Regions from separate parts of the Homo sapiens genome. Here region 1 is linked to region 2. The links are contacts of gene promoters, found by promoter capture Hi-C in human tissues and cell types (Jung and others, 2019). All regions are on one chromosome and are shown on one strand. The core of a region is centred on a gene start or on the middle of the fragment in contact, and the rest is flanking DNA. Distances in the headings are between cores, read along the strand shown. Region 1 overlaps HHLA1 (HHLA1 neighbor of OC90). Region 2 holds the start of OC90 (otoconin 90).

Region 1 (4,019 bases), core at 1,421-3,920, 35 kb after region 2:
TTTCAATATCGATTCTCCCACCTTCCTTTAGTAAGACAGTATCAAATTTTAATTGGGAACGTGATGGTTTAAAGCAACGACTATAATTTCAAGCTTGCTTTGTGGGTGAGTGTAGCCATGAGATTAAATTCTGGGAAATAGGATGTAAGAGGGAGAAATGTGAATGGTTTCCAGGCTGTGAGTTCATAGTGAATGTGCATGCCTTCTGGGATGGTTTGGATCTGTGTCCTTGCCCAAATCTCATGTCAAATTGCAATCCACAATGCTGGAGGTGAGGCGTGGTGGGAGGTGATTGGATCATGGGGGCAGACTTCTCATGAATGGGTTAGCACCACGTCCTTGGTGCTGTTCTCATGATAGTGAGTGAGTTATTGTGAGATCTGCTTGTTTAAAACACCTTTCCCCTTGTTCTCCCTTGCTCCTGCTCTAGTCATGTAAGATCTGCCTGCTTCTACTTCCCCTCTGCCATGATTGTAAGTTTCCTGAGGTCTCCCCAGAAGCTGAGCAGAAGCACTCATGCTTCCTGTACAGCCTGCAGAACCATGAGCTGATTAGACCTCTTCTCTTTATAAATTACCCAGTTTCAGGTATTTCTTTATAGCAATGTGAGAATGGACTAATACACTTTCCAAATCCTTTCTCCTCTTCATTGTAGCTGGAGTGTGAATGTGCTGGCAACCTACCTTAGGCTATGAGAACACAGATCATTATGAAAGGCAAAGCAACAAGCTAGAAGGAGCCTGGGCCCCAAAACCATCAAACCATTAGAGCAGCCCTGGCATGTCTACATGCCCAGACTATCAGACATGAAAGCAATTAACTTCTACCTTCTTTAAACTAGGCTATTTTGGAGTCATTTGTTATAGTAGCCCACCCTGTATTCTAAATAATGCAGAGAATGGGTTCCTATATGTAGAGCAGGATGTCTACACTGATGGGTAGATATTAGCTGGGGTACATAGGTAGATAGGTAGGTTAGATAAGTAGCTTAGATGACAGGTTGGATAGATAAGTGGGTTATATAGGTAGTGTAGACAGCCTTGGATAGCATTTATTAGCATGTTAATAGTGACTACCAGTGGATGGTGGGATATCAGCTATTTCTGGTTTCTTAGTTTTCCTGTCCATGTTGCATAGCATCTTGATATCACAGTACATTATTTTTAAAATTAAGAAAACTTAAGCCAGTTTCATTTAGGAAGAAAAAAAAGGGAAAATATGCAAATATACCCTCAAAGGAGGGCTTTAGATCAGAGTTGAAAACATTAAAAAGAAAATGATCCAGATCTAAAGATCATCCACAAAGTCACCTTCCCCGAAGGTGTTGAGCAACGGCAAGTTGTTGGCCTACGTGTACAGCCTCTCATGGTAGCGCTGTGACTTCTTGTCAAACCTGGCAAAAGTTGCTATGACCTACCAGAGGAACACCAGGCAATTTTATCAGTAGATAATGATCCATGGATCATTCTTTTCATATAATTGTTGCAAGTGTGTGAAAATATGATTTGACTCATGAAATAAAATTATAAACTTTCTCCAGGCAGATTTAACTTTTTAAATCTTATTTTTATCTTTCACACAATCAGGATAGGGACTCACCCAGCACAGACTTCTATCCTCAGCAGGGGTTAATGAAATGGTGAGAAAGGCATGATTATGAAGAATTTTTTTCCTCACAAATGTATTTGTTGAAGAGATTCACAGGGTAAATTACATAAGATAATAGACATTAAGCACTCATTGTAGCATCTCGCATATAGTACTTATTATATATTAGTAATTCTTTCCTTTAATATTTTCACAATATTTGTTTTAGAAATTCTACTCAGTGGGGGAAATAATCTGAAACAGGGAAGAGTTTACGCACAAAGATGTCCAAGGCAAAATTATTTATATTAAGAAAAACCTAGATCCACTCAAAAGTCTAAGAACAGCATAGTGGCTAAGAGAATGCTTGCATTCACTGGTTACATAGTCATTACAAGTGTTTAAGAAGAGTTTGTAATATGGTGGAAGGGTTAATATTAGACTAAGTGGGGAAAAGTACAAGAGGCTTTGGTTGCCTTTAGTGCTTGCTTCCCTTACAATCTCGTATTTAACAAGCAGCCAGAAGGATTCTTTTAAAATGTCAGATCATGTCCCTTCCCTGTGCAGACAATCACAATGGCTTCCTTCTTATTCCGGGTGAAAATTAGAATCCTCGCAGCAGACCTTAAACTTCTATATGATCTGCAACACCCTCCCCACTTTGCCCTCACCAATCAGAGCTAATTTCCTATAGCTCTGTCCTGGCTAACCTGCTCCAGTTATGCTGGCTTCTCTGGTCCTCATGCTGCTGCTTAGGCCTTTGTCTGGACCACTGTCCCCAGGAACAACCACAGGGCTGGCCCCTCACATCCTGAAGGTCACCCCTCAACCCTCACTTCATTTGGAGAAGACTTTCCTGACCACCCTACACACAGCAATATCCCCCACTGTGACTTTTCCCTCCGGCTTTCCCCTGCTTCATGGTTCCCATGGTCAGGCTGTCAGCCCACACACCATGTACTTGCAGTACATTTATTTACTCCCTGCTCCCCGCTAGGAATCTATGTCCCACGGGAGCAGGAGGTGTGTTCACTTTGCTCTGTGTGCTTTCCCCACACCTAGAAGAGTGCATGGGTCATAGTGCACGCTCAGATGGAATTACTGAATGGGTGAATTAACGGTGCAAAAATTGTCACTTTTATTTTTCAGTATTCTCTAAAATAGGGAACACATAATACTTTAAAGTTTTATTTATAAAACTAGCATATGAACATACTCTCCTTGGGAAAAAAAAGTTCAGATAATCTAAGGCTCTTTTAACCAACATTCTTCCACTCCAAAACACATACTCCAATCTTCTTTTCAAAGGGAATCACCTATCTGGTGCCCACATATGTGTTCTTATCAATAACATTGTGCTCTTTGTATTTTTGTGTAACTTTCTTTTTCTAATTAAAAATCTCTTGGAAGCTTTTCCATGCACAGGCCAAATTTGAGCACTCTCACTCATTTATGTATTATCTGTGGCTGTTTTTGAAAGTTTAATTATGTGGGAGACTACTTAACCATTTTCCCTCATGATGGATATTTAGGTTGTTCCTCACTTTTGCAATTAAAACAATGCTTCATGAACATTTTCCTCCTGTTGCTTTTGCACACACAACTGTTTTTCACTGGGATAATGAATGAGCACATGGTTAAGGGTAGTGGATAGGACCATATTTTCCTGTCTTACATTGAGGAAAAACAAAAACTTATCTAAAAGGACACAAGCAAAATTGGAAAAGCTGCAAGCCTCATGGTAAGCTGTACCCACCTGATAAGTCATTGGTCCGATTGTTTAAACAGTAGCAATACCTTGTGGGGAATTTGGCGGGGTCTACTGTCTTCAGGTTAGAAACTGTGAAGAGAAAGGATTCAACAGAGATCCTAACACACAGACCAGCCCTGCAACACATCCCTACCACCACCACCATCAAGAAGAGCCAGCCAGCACTCACTGTTGTAAACAGCTACAGAAAACTTGTGGAAGGCGAAGGAACTGTAGGAAGTGACACTCAGCAAGGAGAAGAACTTCTTGCTATCTGCCAAAACATACCAGATAAAGAGACAGACAGATGCCTACTAACGTAACAATAATACAAATAAGTAAACAGTCCCTAGAAATTAACAATGCCAATAAAGAAACCAATGATGAAAATAAAGAAACAAACAAAAAAGTAATACAAATAAAAAATAATAAACAAAGTAAAACTAAACCAAAAAGCTGAAGAGTATGTATCATTTGTCTATATTTCCTGATCCATCCTCAAGCTGTGGCAACTCTCTAAGAAAGATTCCCAAGGCATATTAGGCCCCTGAGGCTGCTGTAACAAATTATCACAAACTTGGTGGCCTAAAACAGCAGAAATTTGTTCTCTCACAGTTCTGGGGGCTAGAAGTCTGAAACTCAGTAGGGCACCCTCCCTTCAAGGGCTCTAAAGGAGAATCTG
Region 2 (4,304 bases), core at 1,238-3,737:
CAGCATGTCTGAACTTGGAGTGGCATTGGGATCTTCCAGTCCAAGCTCCTGTTTTACAGATGAGATCATTGAGGTTTAGAGCCTGGCAAATCATGGCAAGAATGTCCAGCTTCCCAGGTCTCCTGACTCCAAGTCCAGTGTCATCATAATAACAGTACCTATCTGTGAGGCTGTTGTGAAGACTGAAATGAGTTAATCTTTGTGAGGCACATACAACAGCGCCTGACATAGAGAAGTTGCTCAAAAGCATTAAGAATTACAATGATGGCATCTGGCTCGAGGTCAAAGGCTCAATAAGTAGTAGCTGCTACAATGAAGGCCTTTGTGCTGTTCCCTAATCCCCTGTAAGAGTGGAAGGCCCTGTCTGGTGAATGAAGAAGAATGATCAGTTTTGCACAGTGGATCTCTGTTTTTCTTTTGTGACACATGTTTCAGGGGTGCATTCCCCTGGGGAGTTCTGCAGCTCAGATAAGACGGCCTGAAGGTCATGTTCCATTACCTCCTTGAAACATGTTGCTTGAATGCAAATGAGCCAAAATGACTTTATTAGAGACATAATTTTGACTATGCTCTAATTTATTTTTGCAATAAGTTATAAGGAGGTATGATTGGGTGTTCTTCGATAATGGGGAGAGTTTCAGTAGGGGAAGATGAAAAAGTCCTGGAGGTGGACAGTGGCGTGATTGCATATCAATGTGAATGCACTTAATGCTCCTCAGCTGTACACTTAAAAGTGGCTGACATGGTCAATATTATGTATATTTTACCACAACTTTTTAAAAAGTAAGTAATAATCTTCATGACCTTATTCCTTTAAACACAACATTTCATGGATTAGGTCATTCTTTGTGTCAGGTGTTCCACTGAGCATGCCCCACTTGCTGTCTGGTGACAACCCTCCAAGACTTTGGCTATCAAGACGTCTCACTTTCTAGACCAGGAAACTGGGCTCAGAGGGTGAGTCACTTGCCAGGGTGGCCCTTGCCCAGAAGGGGGCGCTCTGGCAATGACCAGACCCAGGTGGGCCAGTCTGACTTGTTCTGGCTCCAATACCCTAAACTGCTAGGCCGGTCCTTTGAGACAAACTAAGCATTCCAGTGATGACTCACTGCGTAACTGTCACAATTATCGGTAGTACTTGCTTGGGAAGACCCTTAGGGTGGCCAGCTTCTTGCTAGGGTGTGGTGAAACACAGCAGGTGACAGCTTCCTTGCTGCGCACAAAGAAGGAAAGTCAGTGCCAGCTAGAAGGTGCCAGTTAGAAGCACGTGGTCAGCCCTGGGCAACAGTGAGGATGACCCGAATCTGGGGTACGTGCACATTAGGGTACGTGGGTGGGATGGTGTGGGGCTGCTTCTGAAATCCAGTATCCTCCTGTTGGCCAAGTCAGGCGCCCTTGGCTGTGGGGCTGTGTCTACCTGGAGGAAAGACCTCCTTCTCCTAATTTGCCCAAGGAAGTCTCTGGGGCTGTCGTGGCCTCATGGGTCAGTGCTGTCCTTGTGGGCCTGAGAAGGCTCCCGAAGCCTCGCCTTGGTCTGCATGCCAGGTTTGGAGTCCCGGCTCCCCTAGCTGTCTCCCAATGGCCGGTCTCATGGCTGCATAGCCAGTGTCTGAGCCCAAGGCCTTGCTGGTCGGACAGACCTGGGCTGGGGTCAGGGAGTTCAGGCTCTGCCTTTTGCTTGTCGAGTGCCCTGAGCCAGGCACTGAAGATGCCTGGAACTCATTTTCCTGGGCAGCGAAATGCATATAATGGTGTTTTTTCATCAGGGAATCATGAGGGTTAAATCTGATGAGTCTTATAAAGGTAGAACACCATCTCCGGCACTTGCTCAGTGCTCAGTGAGGACTGCCCATAATTAATGCTGATTGTGTTTCCACACCAGGTGCCGTGGGCGGGGTCATTGCCCAGGGCTATGTAGGATCCTCACTAATGTGAAGTGGTGGATTTTTCCCCCGGGTAAATTTGCCAGGTGCTCTCTGTCTGGCATTGCATCTTTTCACAGATCGACTCAGAGCAATTTGGGTTTTCAGCTATATCCTGGAGCAACATCCAGGTCTCAGACAGCCCTGAGAGCATCCCCTACCACCTTATCCTCCATTCATTTATCTCCTCATTTCCCCTCCATTCTTCTCTCCCTTCCTCCCTCTTTCCCTCTCTCCCTCCCTCCCTTCTACCCTCTCTTTCTCCCTCCTTTTCTTCCTTCATCAATTTCTCCTACTTTTCTTCCCTCCCCTCCTTCCTCCTACCCTTTCTGCCTCTTTCCATCTCCCAACCATTTCCCTCCCTCCCTCACTCTTTTCCTCCATCCCTCCCTCTCCCCCTCCTTCTCTTTCTCCCTCCCTTCTTCTCTTCTCCCATTCATTTCCCTCCTTTACTTGCTGTCTTCCTCCCTCCCTCCCTCCCCTGCTCTCTGTCTCCCCAACCATCAGGAATAACAGATGCCTACCGTGAAGGCTCCACTGGAGTGCAGCTGGATGAATGATGCTAGGGTTTGAACAGGTGCAGACTGAGTCCTTTATACCCCAAGGAAAGACCCTTAGCCATGTGATGCCTCTCCCCACTCCTCACATCAAGAAGGAAGCCTTTCATGAATGTTGGCAGGTGGGCTGCCTCTGAAGGGAGGAGGCATCATAATACTATAGCTTGGAACAGGTGAAGGCTCCATATTAAGAAGCCCCATCTTGAGCCTCAGAGGAGACCTCAGGCTCTAATTAGAGAACAATGGGTTCCCTGTTCTACCCCACCTCACCTCAAAGGCTAGGAGGCCCATGGATTATGTCTCAGGGTCATCATGGGAACTCTCGGGGGATGAAAGACTGATGAAAGTCATGTGGGCTCTCCTGCAAGATAAAGGGCTGGCTTTGTCTGGTCTAGTTCATTCTTTAGCAAGAGGATTTCTAGCGTGATTCTTCTTATATGTTCTTGGCCTCAGATCTCGGAATTTGATGCCTCTTTCCTTTAGGGCTTTTCTGCCCAAGCTGTGGGGTAGGGTGAGGTGGGGCTTTATAATCAGACACCCAAGGTTCCTCTGCCAGCCCTGCTACTGAGTAGCAGTGTGACCTTGAGTTTGTCACTGCTCAGCTTTAGCTTCCACATCTGTTAAATGGGCTTAATCCTACTAAGATTTCGAGGCTGAAGAAAGCCATATATAGTGTGTGGTATGGGGGCTCATTAAGTCCTAGTTCTTTTTGTCACTTCCTCATATCGCCTTGTGAAGGGTTTTCTTTCCTGATTTTGAAAGGAGAACTGGCATTTATTGAGTACGTGTAATGTACCACAAGTGTTTTATAGGATTTTGCCCTCATCATCCCTGCAGCAGCCCTTCCATTACTGCTTTCATAATCCTAGGAGCAAGGATTAATTAGCTCCACTTTACAGATGAGAAAAAATGGTGTCGTTGAGGTTGAGGCATTGTAGAAGCTCACGTGTAATGGAAGCATTCTGGAATGCAGGTTAGCCTGGCTGTGAACCCTCTGAGTTGCTCACTCTATGGCCACCTCCTGAAGAAGCAGGACTCCTCAAACGATTAAATCAGGGCACAATTGAGCCTCTATGGAAGAACCCATTGAAGGGCTTCTTCAAATAAGTAATTACTCTCATTCATTGAGGCTTGTGTTTGTAGATCATTAACTATTGTTCAGCATCTCATGTGATTTGAGGAATGAAGATGCATTGTCTGTAATATTTTCTCATTAGCACCAAAGACCCACCATCTCTAAAATGACTAAGCCCGTGGGCATCTATGGCTCAGTGCAGCAAAATCCATCTTTTCAGCATCTCAAGAGCATAGCTGAGATTGTTATTATGCTCAAGAGCATAACTGAGATTGTTATTATGCCTGAGCAATACAAAGGCATAACAATCTACATAGGTATCTTGTTCGAGACATTTCATGGGGTTTTGAGAAGGATCATTTTTTCCCATAGCTTACAACAGAGTATCTTAATCTTAGCACTGTTGACATTTGGGCCAAATTATTCTTTTTTTGTAGGAGTTGTCCCGAGCATTGCAATATCGCAGGTCTCTACTCAGCTGATGCCAGTAGCACTCCCTACCTTGTTGTGACAACCAAAAATGTCTCCAAACATTGCCAAGTGTCCCCTGGGGGCCAAATCACCCCTGATTGAAAACCACTGGCCTTCAATATCCCTGGAACCTTGGCCTTTTACCATTCTGTTGGTGGAATAAAGTGAGAGTGAAGTTTTCACAAGAACCCAGACATAAGAGGATAAAGTCTGTTCTAAATGAGAGTTTAAAATTTTAGATTTAATTATGACAGCACCTAAATGTCTCGTTCACACAAA

The links. The method cuts DNA at HindIII sites, captures the fragments that hold promoters and counts their contacts. A contact is called where the count stands out against the background at its distance.
Region 1: a contact is called between a fragment that was not itself captured here and the fragment with the promoter of OC90 in region 2, in 2 of the 25 tissues and cell types used here (hippocampus and pancreas).

The regions. Positions count from the first base shown.
Region 1 is chr8:132,092,176-132,096,194 of GRCh38, forward strand. It overlaps HHLA1 (HHLA1 neighbor of OC90), which reads right to left. Exons shown (of 17, transcript NM_001145095.3): 6 at 3,528-3,611; 7 at 3,344-3,427. Among named protein-coding and RNA genes, the nearest start is that of HHLA1, 17 kb to the right of the region's middle. The HindIII fragment of the contact is 7,831 bases long and covers 1-4,019 here.
Region 2 is chr8:132,056,895-132,061,198 of GRCh38, forward strand. It overlaps OC90 (otoconin 90), which reads right to left and starts at 2,488. Exons shown (of 14, transcript NM_001080399.3): 1 at 2,447-2,488. RefSeq lists enhancers at 981-1,558, 1,559-2,135. The HindIII fragment of the contact is 9,699 bases long and covers 1-4,304 here.